Linked DNA regions of Homo sapiens: region 1 is linked to region 2. The links are contacts of gene promoters, found by promoter capture Hi-C in human tissues and cell types (Jung and others, 2019). All regions are on one chromosome and are shown on one strand. The core of a region is centred on a gene start or on the middle of the fragment in contact, and the rest is flanking DNA. Distances in the headings are between cores, read along the strand shown.

Region 1 (5,849 bases), core at 707-3,206, 150 kb before region 2:
TTAGCCGGGCGTGGTGGTGGGCACCTCTAGTCCCAGCTACTCGGGAGGCCGAGGCAGGAGAATGGCGTGAACCCAGGAGGCGGAGCTTGCAGTGAGCCGAGATCGAGCCACTGCACTCCAGCCTGGACGACAGAGCAAGACTCTGTCTCAAAAAAAAAAAAAGTCTTGGTTATTCTTGGCCCTTTGCTCTTTCCTGTAACATGCTGTACAGGTTTGTAGCGTGGGAGCAATAGGCTATGCCATAAAGTCTAGGTGTGTGGTAGGCTATACCATCTAGGTCTGCGAAAGTACTCTATGATGTTCACACAACAACAAAATTACCTAATAATGAATATCTCAGAATGTATCACCATCATTAGGCAATGCATGACAGTGTATCACAGTTTCATAGTGTCTGGTAGTGTTTCTGGCTCTTGTTTCTATTTTGTCCACTCTGAACCATTGCTGTGCCATATTAATGGCTACATCTCTAGTTTAATTTTAATTTTTTTTTTTTTTTTGAGACAGAGTCTTGCTCTGTCACCCAGGCTGGAGTGCAGTGGCTCGATCTCAGCTCACTGCAAGCTCCGCCTCTCAGATTCGCGCCATTCTCCTGCCTCAGCCTCCCGAGTACCTGGGACTACAGGCGCCCACCACCACGCCTGGCTAAGTTTTTTTTTTTTTTTGTATTTTTAGTAGAGATGGGGTTTCACTGTGTTAGCCAGGAGGGTCTCCATCTCCTGACCTCGTGATCCGCCCACATCTCTAGTTTTAGAATTAGTTTTGAAACGTGGTAGAGCAGGTGCAATATTATGTTGTCTTAATTACCTTAGTTTTAGAATATATCCAGGGCAGCCTCTCCCTCTTGTCTACCATCTTTTTCTTCAAAAGTGTCTTGGTTAGGCCAGGCGGTGGCTCATGCCTGTAATCCCAGCACTCTGGGAGGCTGAGGAGGGTGGATCACGAGGTCAGGAAATCAGACCATCCTGGCTAACACGGTGAAACCCGGTCTCCACTAAAAATACAAAAAATTAGCCGGGCGTGGTGGCGGGCGCCTGTAGTCCCAGCTACTTGGGAGACTGAGGCAGGGGAATGGCGTGAACCTGGGAGGCAGAGCTTGCAGTGAGCCGAGATCGCGCCACTGCACTCCAGGCTGGGCGACAGAGCAAGACTCCGTCTCAAAAAAAAAAAAAAAAAAAAAGTCTTGGTTATTCTTGGCCCTTTGCTCTTTCCTGTACATTTTAGAATAAGTTTGTGAAACCTGATGGATTAGGTTGCATTGATTCTAAAGACGTACTGAGCTGAACTGATATTTTTGTGATATTCAGTTTTCCTATTCATAAACAAAAGCTATAATTCATCTTTCTTTATCTTTTTATTAATAACTTCCAATTTAATTTTGTTTTTTTCCAGAGAATATATCTATACAATACCTATTTTAAAAAATTAATTGTCTTACTTTATAGCCAAGTATGTTATCAAGTGGTCCAGGTGTACCTTAGAAGAATGTTTATCATTTAAATTTAGGACACAGAACTCTATAAGTCTGTTATGTAAAGCTTGCTAATTCTGATCTTTAACCTATATATAATTGATCTTTTTTTATTTGTTTGACCTAGCAACAATTGAGAGAGGAAGTTTAGTATCTTCTCAATGTAATGATGGAGTTGTTAGTTTCTCTCTGTAACTTTGTCAGTTTTTGTTTTACCACATACTGAGTTATTTTGAATCTAATTAGGTTATTACATGCTTAGAACTGTTAAAATTTTCTAGTGAATTGGACCTTTACCATTGTGTGTTGACTGTCTTCAACTCTAATGATGCTTTTGTCTTTTTTTTTTTTGAGGGAGTCTCACTCCGTCACCCAGGCTGGAGTGCAGCGGTACGATCTCGGCTCACTGCAACGTCTGCCTCTCGGGTTCAAGCAATTCTCCTGCCTCAGCCTCCCGAGTAGCTAGGATTACGGGCACGTGCCACCACGCCCAGCTAATTTTTTGTATTTTTAGTAGAGATGGGGTTTCACCGTGTTAGCCAGGATAGTCTCGATCTCCTGACCTCGTGATCCGCCCGCCTTGGCCTCCCAAAATGCTGGGATTACAGGCATGAGCCATTGTGCCCGGCCGATGCTTTTGTCTTAAAATCTATTTTGCTGAAATTAGTATAGCTACATCATAGTCACGTGTAGTGGTGTGTACCTGTAGACCCAGCTACTCACAGGCTGAGGTGGAAGGAGGGCTTGAGCCTAGGTGTTTGAGGCTGCAGTGAGCTATGATTGCACCACTGCACTCCAGCCTGGGCAACAGGGTTACCCTGTCTTGAAAAATAAATAAAAATAGACTGGTTATATTTCAGGACTATACATTCTTCCTAAAATGTGAATTTCCTCTTTTGTCTGGTTCTAAAGTGGAATAAATGATCCATTTCTTTGTTTGTTATCCTTACTAAACTCTACATCTTTTCAGGCATGGATCACGTTGTTTTCATATTTGACCTTCTAGTACCTACCTCATAGTTTATTTATTTAAAAGTAAATAAATAAAAATATATATAGCTACACTAGATTTCCCTTGATTAGCATTTTCTCACATATATTTTCCTCATATTTTTTTTTACTTTCAACCATTCCATATCTTTATGCTTGAGGTGTAACTCTTATAAACACATATAGCTAAATATTTAAACAATTTGATCTGTTTCTCTCTTTGCATTGGCAAGTCTAGTCCATTAGCATTTTCTATGTTGAGTATTTGGACTAATTTCTTACATTTAATTTTTGATTTTTATTTGGTTCACTTTTCTGTGTTCTTTTTAATTTTTAATTTTTGTATTTTTAGTGGAGATGTGGTTTCACCATGTTGTCCAGGCTGGTCTCAAACTCCTGACCTCAAGTGATCCACCCAACTTGGCCTCCCAAAATGCTGGGATTACAGATGTGAGCCACTGTGCCCAGCCCCTGTGTTGTCTCCATTCCTTATATTTGGCCTTTAAATGGGGTTATTGATTGATTGCATGTTCTTATTTTTCCTGTTTCTCTACTACTTAGGAAGCACATATTCCAATTTTAGTGTTTTAATTATAGCTCTTGATTTTATCATGCATTTTTTTCATATTTGTTAATCTATCAAAACAAACTATTCCTTTGCCCACATATTCATGTTTCACAGTTCAGGAACGTAGGCCAGTGACAAACTTCCATGGAACACAATCCCCAGAAATTCTTTACATTCCAATATCACTTTGCATTCCAAAAGATACCAACCTTTTTCATCTCTTCAAAATCATTTGTAGAATTATAATTTCTGCAGAAATCTATATATGCCTTATTTCATGGTTTAGCCACAACAAACTTATAGATAGTTGCAACTCCTAGGACACAACAAATGCTGCAACAGTATGAAATGGCAGATGCTTGGCCAAAAGGCCAAAAACCTTGAGGTTTCATCAAGGCACTGGAAGCTATGATAGTCATGGTATTGCATCATCCTCTGCAAGTTCCTTCCAGATGGACAGAGAAATAGGCATTGCTATTGCACCAGCTGCATGCAGGTGCAGAAGTTATTATGCATTTTTAATGCATTAACTCTGTTTAAAGAACGGCACCGATGATGTTAAAAGGACTTTAAAATGCTTTCACTTTGGTATTTCCCGTTCTGATTTATACACTGTTGTTCATTATTTCCCGTGGGTGGAGGAACTAGCCACATGATGTAAACACTATTAGTATTATATTTATAAGGCTAACACCCAGTATGTTTCAATTTGCTTACCTGTTTACCACTTTCTCTGTACACTATTTCTTCTTGTCTTTCTAGGACAAGACTTTATTCTAAGACCTTTTTTTTTTTTTTTTTTTTGAGATGGAGTCTCACTCTGTCACTAGGCTGGAGTGCAGTGGGGCGATCTTGGCTCACTGCAACCTCAGCCTCCTGGGTTCAAGCCATTCTCATGCCTCAGCCTCCTGAGTAGCTGGGACTACAGGTACACACCATGCCCAGCTAATTTTTTTTATTTTTTATTTTAGTAGAGACAGGGTTTCACCATGTTGACCAGGATGGTCTTGATCTCCTGACCTCATGATCCGCCCACCTCAGCCTCCCAAAGTGCTGGGATTACAGGCGTGAGCCACCATGCACAGCCTGTTCTAAGACTTTCTTCTGAAATCTTTTCACCTACTTGAAGTAAAGCTTTTTCTCTCTTTTTTTTTTAGAGCAGTTCCCTTGGTAGTCCACATTTTTAAAAACTGTGAAAGTGGTTTGCTTTCATTCATTCATTCATTTTTTTTTTTTTTTTAAGGGACAAGTTTTCGCTGTATTGCCTGGGCTCAAGGGAACCTCCCGCCCCAGCCTCCTGAGTAGCTGGAATTACATGCACATGCCACTGTGCCTGGCTTGATTTCATTTTTGAAAAACAGTTTTCCTGGATGTACAATTCTAAATTAGCAGTTATAATATCTTAGTACTTTCAAAACATTCTGCCATCTCTGGCTTCTTTTTTGCTTTGTTGTTTCTTTGTGGTCCTTTCTTTCTGGATGCTTCAAGATCTGTTTGTCTTTAGAGTCTGCTGTTCCATTGTGATGTATTTTAAGGTGGCTTTCTTTTTATGTATTCTGCTTGGGATAAATTGTTCTTCTTGGATCTATAGATTCGTGGTTTTGTTTTTTTTTTTTGGTTCGGGAAATTTACAGCCATTTGCTTTTTTTTTTTTTTTTTTGAGACAGAGTTTCTGTTGCCAGGCTGGAGTGCAGTGGTGTGATCTCAGCTCACTGCAACCTCTGCTCCCTGGGTTCAAGCAAGTCTCCCACCTCAGTCTCCTGAATAGCTGGGATTACAGACATGCACCACCATGCCTGGCTAATTTTTGTACTTTTAGTAGAGACAGGGTTTAGCCATGTTGGCCAAGCTGCTCTCGAACTCCTGACCTCGAGTGATCCACCTGCCTTGACCTCCCAGAGTGCTAGGATTACAGGCATCAGCCATTGCGCCCGGCCCATTTGCTCTTAATATTGCCTCTCCTGACCTTATTCTCCATGTCTCTTAAGCTTTCATATTTTCAATCTGCTATCCGTTTATGCTGCTGTCTGGATAAATTCTTTGGCCATAGCTTCAGCTCTCTAATTCTGACTTCAGCTGCTATCTGTTCTGTATATTGAATTTTAGATTTCAATAATTATATTCTTCATCTGTAGAAGTTCTATTTTATTTTCTTTCTTTTTCATATAAAAGGATTTTTAAAACAAATCTATTTTTTCTTATTTCTTATAAGCTTATTTTTGTAATTACATCCTTAAATTTTAAAAACATTTTCATACGAAGCTGATAAATGTAACATCTATAATTCTTAGTGGTCTGAATCTGTGTCTCTTCTTTCTTTCTTTCTTTTCTTTTCTTTTTTTTTTTTTTTTGAGACAGGGTTTCACTCTTGCCGAGGCTGGAGCGCAGTGGCATGATCTCGGCTCACTGTAGCCTGGACCTCCCAGGCTCAAGTGATCATCTCACCTCAGCCTCCTGAGTAGCTGAGACTACAGGCATGTGTCATCACGCCTGGCTAATTTTTGTAGAGATGAGCCTTCACCATGTTGCCCAGGTTGGTCTTGAACTCCTGAGCTTAAGTGATCCACCTGCCTTGGCCTCCCAAAGTGCTGGGATTACAGGCGTGAGCCACCTTGCCTGGCCTGAATCTATGTTTCTTGTTTTTATTTATTCTTATTCAGACTTTCAAGGCTATGAGTTCATTTCTTGGTTTTTGAGCGATAGTTGTTGAGGCCTAAATTGGGGAGGCTTTCCCCCAGAGACAGTTTGCTTCTCTTTCTTCTCTTGGATGGAGTCACTTTAGACTTTTTAGAAGACTTTGACTAAGAAAGGGTGGTCATG
Region 2 (6,213 bases), core at 3,079-5,578:
AAGGAAGAGGCAGCAGTGATCGAGGTGTCTGTCTCTAAGCAGAAACAGTGCTTTGGGCAGAGTCGAGGTATGGTAGTAAAACCCAGAAGACAGGTGGCTGAGGTACCTTTCCTAGCTGTTCATCTTACCTATTTCCCTGCCTAACGAAACAGGGAGCAGTACCACTGTCTTTGCACCTTTCCCATGTAAGAATCAGTGGGCAGTTCAGCAGAAAATCCCCATTATAAAAATGCACTTATAGTAACCCGCCCCCCAAATCTTTTAGGATTACTAGAATCACAAAATAAGAGAGACAAATTCAAAAGACAACAGCAAAATAAAAACAAAAACCAGAAGTAAAGAAAAGAAAAAAGGCAACAGAACATAAATCCAAGTAAAGAGAGTTTGTAAAGCTATCATGATAAAATTCACATTAAAATAAATATAATCTTTTTAATGATTCAGGAGAAAGTGCTATATAAAAATAAGAAAATATGATTATGAAACGTTAAGAATAAGTTATAAAAACATATTAGAGACTTTGGAAATGTAAGAGTATATCATGGGCTTGTTTCAGAAGCTGAACATATGGGGACATTTTATCTTTTTAATGTCCACATAGTAATCCATAGGATGAAGGTGCCATCATTTTTTCAACAATTCTTTTGTTGATGCACACTAGACACTGCAATTTTTCTGCTGTTTAAGCAATCATGTGATGAACATCTTTTTGTATATGTATTTTTTCAGGTTATTATTACCTCTAGGATTAATTCCTCAAAGTGAAATTTTGGAGTACAGCACTTGAAATTTTAAATAAAATTTGCCACGATATTTTCCAAAAGTTTTTAGAAAATTCATATATTTTTCATAATGTATAAAAGTACCTTTTCCCCCTGTAATTTGCTAGTACCAGATACATACAATCATTTGAATGTTGGCTTACTGTGATCTAGCCTCAGTGGCTTATTCTTCTCGTGGATTTTGCATTACTCAAATTTAAAGGGAGTAAAACCTCCTTGAAAAGCTTTCCCCCTAAACCTTTACATGGTTTACTTCCTTATTTCATTCATATATATGATTTATTGTTATCTCCCAACACTAGAATACTAGAATGTAAGTTCTATGAGTTCAGTGATTTTTTTTCTGATTTGTTTATCACTACATCCCAAGGAAGCTTGGGATATAGTAGTATTCAGTGCATATTTTGGAATGAATGAATAAATGAATTCATTTGACAAATACCCTGGGACCTCTGGAGAGAGTGATCATTTGTTATCATGTGTATTAGTTTCCTGTGGCTATTGTAACAAATTACTATGAATTTGGAAGCTTAAAATAACAGAAACTTATTATTTCACAGTTCTGGAGGCCAGAAGTCTAAAATAAGTATCACTGGGCAAAAATCAAGGTGGCAACAGAGCCATACTCCCTCTGGAGGCTCCAAGGTGGAATCCATTTCCTGTGTCTTCCAGCTTCTGCTGGCTTCTGGCATTCCTTTGCTGTGGCCAAACCACTCCAATCTCTTTCTCTTTGGTCACATTGCCTTCTCCTTCTCTGTTTGTGTCACATTCTCCCTCTGTCTCTCTCTTATAATGATACTTGTGATTGCTTTTAGGGCCCACCCAGACAATCTAGGATAATCACTCCATTACTCCATTTTAAGATTCTTAATCACATATGCAAAGGCCATTTTTAAAGTAAGGTAACATTTATAGATTCCATGGATTGGGGCCTGATATCTTTGGGGGCCATTATTCAGTCTGCTACAGTCTTCTCTCTGGCCCCCAGTGATTTATGTTCATTCCACGGTAAAATGTGTTCATCCCACCTCCAAATCCTCAAAAGCCTCAACCCAACACAGCATCAACTAAAGCCCAAAATATCATCTAAATATCATCAGCTTGAAAGTCCTAAATCTCATTATCTAAATTACCTAAATCAGATATAGGTAGGATACTGTGTATGATCCATCCTGGGGCAAAATTTCTCTCCATCTGTGGACCTGTGAAACAAGAAGACAAGATATCTGTTCCCCAAATATAATGATGATACAGGCATCATGATGTAACAGTAATAGACATTTACATTCTAAAAGGGGGGAAGTGGAAGGAGGGAAAAGGTCATCAGACCCAAGCAATTCTGAAGTTCATCAGGGCAAACACGGCATTTCAAGGCCTATGAATAACACTTAGTGACTCAATGCTCCATGCTCTGGGTCTGAGACTAATATTTTCTGTGTGCACTGCTCCAACCTCTGCACCATGGCTCTAAATCCTAGACCCAAGGCTCCAGCTTTTGGGCCAAAGGGTTTGTTCTTGAAGTTATCCTTTCTTTTTCTTGATAGGTAGCACATATTTGTAGCTGATTAGTTTTATCAGCCTTTTCCTGCTTGTAGAATTTTATGAGTCTTACAGCCTTCTTTCATTTTGTTCTGTCTCTGTCCCTTTAGCACAAGCTGGTGGTGTTTCTGAAACTATATCATTTTTGAAAACCTGGTTCTCCCATGTATGTTATGACTATTCACATCATTAGACAAGAGGGTCCTTCACCTTTAAGTAATTTGTTCTCACATTTTAATACATTGAGTAAACAACAATAGGCTGTACCTTCAAAACTTTGTAAATCTGCTTATCTAAACATCCAAGTTCATCACTTACAAGTTCTGCTTTCCATGTAACTGTAGGTCAAAATTAAGCTAGACTTTCTGTCACTATCTAACAAGGATAACTTTTTCTCCAGTTTCAAAACAGCATGTTCCTTGTTTCTGTTTGAGCCCTCACCCAGCAAAGTGAACTAAAACACATGACCCAGCTCTATGCTGTCTACAAGAAAGTCACTTCAAATATAATAATAGAGGCAAATTGAAAGTAAAATAATGGGTCAGGTGTGATGGCTCACACTTGTAATCCCAGCACTTTGGGAGGCTGTGGTGGTTGGATCACGAGGCCAGGAGTTTGAGACCAGCCTGGCCAATGTGGTGATACCCCATCTCTACTAAAAATACAAAAATTAGCTGGGCGTGGTGGCAGGCGCCTGTAATCCCAGCTACTCGGGAGGCTGAGGCAAAAGAATCTCTTGAACTCGAGAGGTGGAGTTTGCAGTGAGCCGAGATTGTGCCACTGCACTCCAGCCTGGGTGACAGAGCAAGACTCCATCTCAAAAAAACCAAAACAAAATCCAAAAAAGAAAGTAAAATAATGAAAAAGACATAGCATGTAAATATTAATCAAAAGAAAAGCAGTAGCTATATTAATATTGAATAACGTAGACTTCAGAGCAAAGAAAATTACTAGAGGCAGAAAGGGATGTTACATAATAATAAAATACTTGAAATTATAAAAATGTAGAAACAGAGAACATATTAGAGGATTCCTGAAGTTAAGGAAGGGATGGGGATGGGACAGAAGTTGTTGTGGCTATGAAAGAGTAATGTGAGGGGTTATTGTGCTCATGGAAATGTTCTGTATCTTGACTGTATCACTGCCAGTATCCTCGTTGTGATATTACACTACAGTTTTTCAAAATGCGTTCATTGGAAGAAATTGGGTAGAGGGCATATAAGATCTCTCTGTATTAATTTCATTTCTTAAAACTGCATGTAAATCTACAATAATCTCAAAGTAAAAAGTTTAATTAAAAAATAAAGGTAGTATCATCTAGAAACATACAGAAAACATAAACATTTATTTTTTCCCAGAAGAATTTTTATTTTGAAGAGAAATTACTCTGGTACACTGTACTCTTGCTTATTCCTATAAATCTCAATATAGTTACAGGGGATTTAGCAGTTCATCAAAAAGTTTTATTTAAAAATTCTAATGCATACTAAAAATAAATAAATTTACAGATGTTTTTAGACTTTTTTTTTTCAGTTGAGGTCTTGCTTAGTTGCCCAGGCTGGAGTACAGTGGTGCAATTCTAGCTCACTGCAGCCTCAAACTCCTGACTTCAATCAATCTTCCCATTTCTGCCTCCTGAGTAGTTGAGACTACAGGCATGAGCCATGACACCTGGCTAATTTTACTTTTATTTATTTATATTTTTTTTTTGTAGAGATGGGGTCTTGTTATGTTGCCCAAACTTGTCTGAACTCTTGGCCTCAAACAATTCTCCCACCTTGGCCTTCCAAAGTGCTGGGATTACAAGTGTGAGCCACCATGCCCAGCAGCAACACATATTTTTATGAGCATATGTACCTGTAATTTCCATTGTCTTGATGAATTTTCAGTGAAATTTTTATAAACAAGTAGTGTACTCAAGAGGCTATATCCCAAAGGACCCCAAATCTCATAAATATCACCTTCCTATACAGTGACAGTTCTTTGCAATTTGTTATTATTGCTGATGTACATTCATCTGCAGGTAATAATTTCCCTTTTCTATTGATACAGGAATGTTTGTTTCTCATTTTTGTATTAGAAGTTAAGGTATAGTTTTTTAAAGGAAATAATCATTTGTTGAACATTCACTTATTTCTATGATCCATACTTGGTATTATCATGTACATCATCTTATTCAACACAAGAATCATGTGAAGTATTTTTTTAAACAAATAACGTAATGAAGAGTTGAACAGTTTATGTAAAATTTCCAAGATTCCATAGATTGCTGGTGACAAAGCTGAATCTAATCCCAGGGCCGTATGTCTCCAAAGCTCATGGCATTTCTGTCCAACACATTGCTTCCATGCCATAATAGCATGTATAACTGACTCTGAATTTCTATTATACACATCTATCTTTTCTAAAATTTTAAGCATTCATTCATTCTTGGGTCCATGCCACTTAATAAAGCCCTGTACAAAGATAAGGAAGATAGGACTTCAGAGTTCAAACATGTAATTGCATGGTGTTCTTAACATAGCATGATATTGATCAGTTAATTCAGACGTGAAATTATTCAAGCATCTCAGTTCAGAATAAAAGTGTGAAAATAATGTGGCTGGATGAGCACATGACTTTGATGCCAGTGTGTGTGTGTGTATGCATGTGGTGTGTGTGTGAGAGAGAGAAAGAGACAGCAGTGCATGTGTGCAAGAGCGTTCAGTCTGCTTGAGAGCAAATTCTTTAAAGAAAAATACATTATTCCTTAATTTTGGTTGATCTTTAAAGAGAGAATTATGGGAATTTTTGTGGTTGCTATTGTTGAGGAGCAATAAAGAATGGAAGTTTCCAAGAGTAAATAAACCTTATATTAAATGATGTAGGAAAACATTGAATTATCTTAATTTTCTTCCATAGAAGAAGATATCATTGATAAAAATGGAATTAAATTGTTGACATGTGAAATAAAAATTCCCTCTTTTATCTTATCAGCTATAGCACCTCTTTTGGCTCCCTCTGTATGGTCTGCCTTTCATATTCCTCTGCCTTTCATTCATTCCTCTCTACTTTTTTAAAAAAACACTTTTGCTTCTCTTTTTTCTTAATTCTAATAGAGGCATCAATTGGATACTTAAGATACATAGAAGCAAAGAGCAAAGTGTTTGCAGACTCCAGAGTGAAAGCAATCTATTGAGAAAGTTCACGCATTATCTTCATATGGATGTGTAGAGTATAGACTATAGTGGATTAATTTACTATGCTGAATCCTAGAATATCATTTTAAAATGTCACAGCATCACATTAGCTCAGGTAGACCTGTAATTCCTGAATCTCTTTCATAGTGCTGTCACCAATTTGCAGCCCATTCCAACTGGGCACAATTGTGACTGCTTGATGATTCTCCCATGTATTGAGCAGTTATTTTGTGTATCCTCAGACTTCTAAAAAGCACTGGAGTAGTAAAAAAAAAAATAAGATAAAAGTTAATTTCCTTCAGGAGCCATTTCTTGCCCAAGATAAATTGCTTATGTTCCTTCATTCACTTTAAAACTCTGTATCTTCTGTTTCTCTTTACTCATATTCCCAACCAATCAACATGGAATTTCTGTATCAGCAACCCTATTTTTGTAGCAGCCACTGCAACATTCTTCCCCATCTTGCTGATGCCCTTTGGTGCATATTGGTCTTTCTATGCTGTAATCCCAACTTCTATTACCCAAAAAGGTTGCTTTTTCATAAAGTCATGAGACCCTACAAATACAGACACAAATATATATTTTCAAATATTTTTTCATATTTATGATGAAGCATACATTTTATTTTTATGGTAATTTTTCTCTCCTTCATAAAAATCAACTTCTCATTTTGGAAATTTTCTTTCTTATATCTCCACGTTCAGTTTAAACAT

The links. Contacts are between HindIII fragments. The study calls those that stand out against the background at their distance.
Region 1: a fragment that was not itself captured here is called in contact with the fragment with the promoter of OR5P3 in region 2 in 1 of the 25 tissues and cell types used here (aorta).

What each region holds. Positions count from the first base shown.
Region 1 is chr11:7,975,071-7,980,919 of GRCh38, reverse strand. It overlaps the pseudogene COX6CP5. Among named protein-coding and RNA genes, the nearest start is that of EIF3F, 9.3 kb to the left of the region's middle. The HindIII fragment of the contact is 5,268 bases long and covers 1-4,590 here.
Region 2 is chr11:7,828,955-7,835,167 of GRCh38, reverse strand. It overlaps OR5P3 (olfactory receptor family 5 subfamily P member 3), which reads left to right and starts at 4,328. Exons shown (of 2, transcript NM_153445.2): 1 at 4,328-4,344. The HindIII fragment of the contact is 13,140 bases long and covers 1-6,213 here.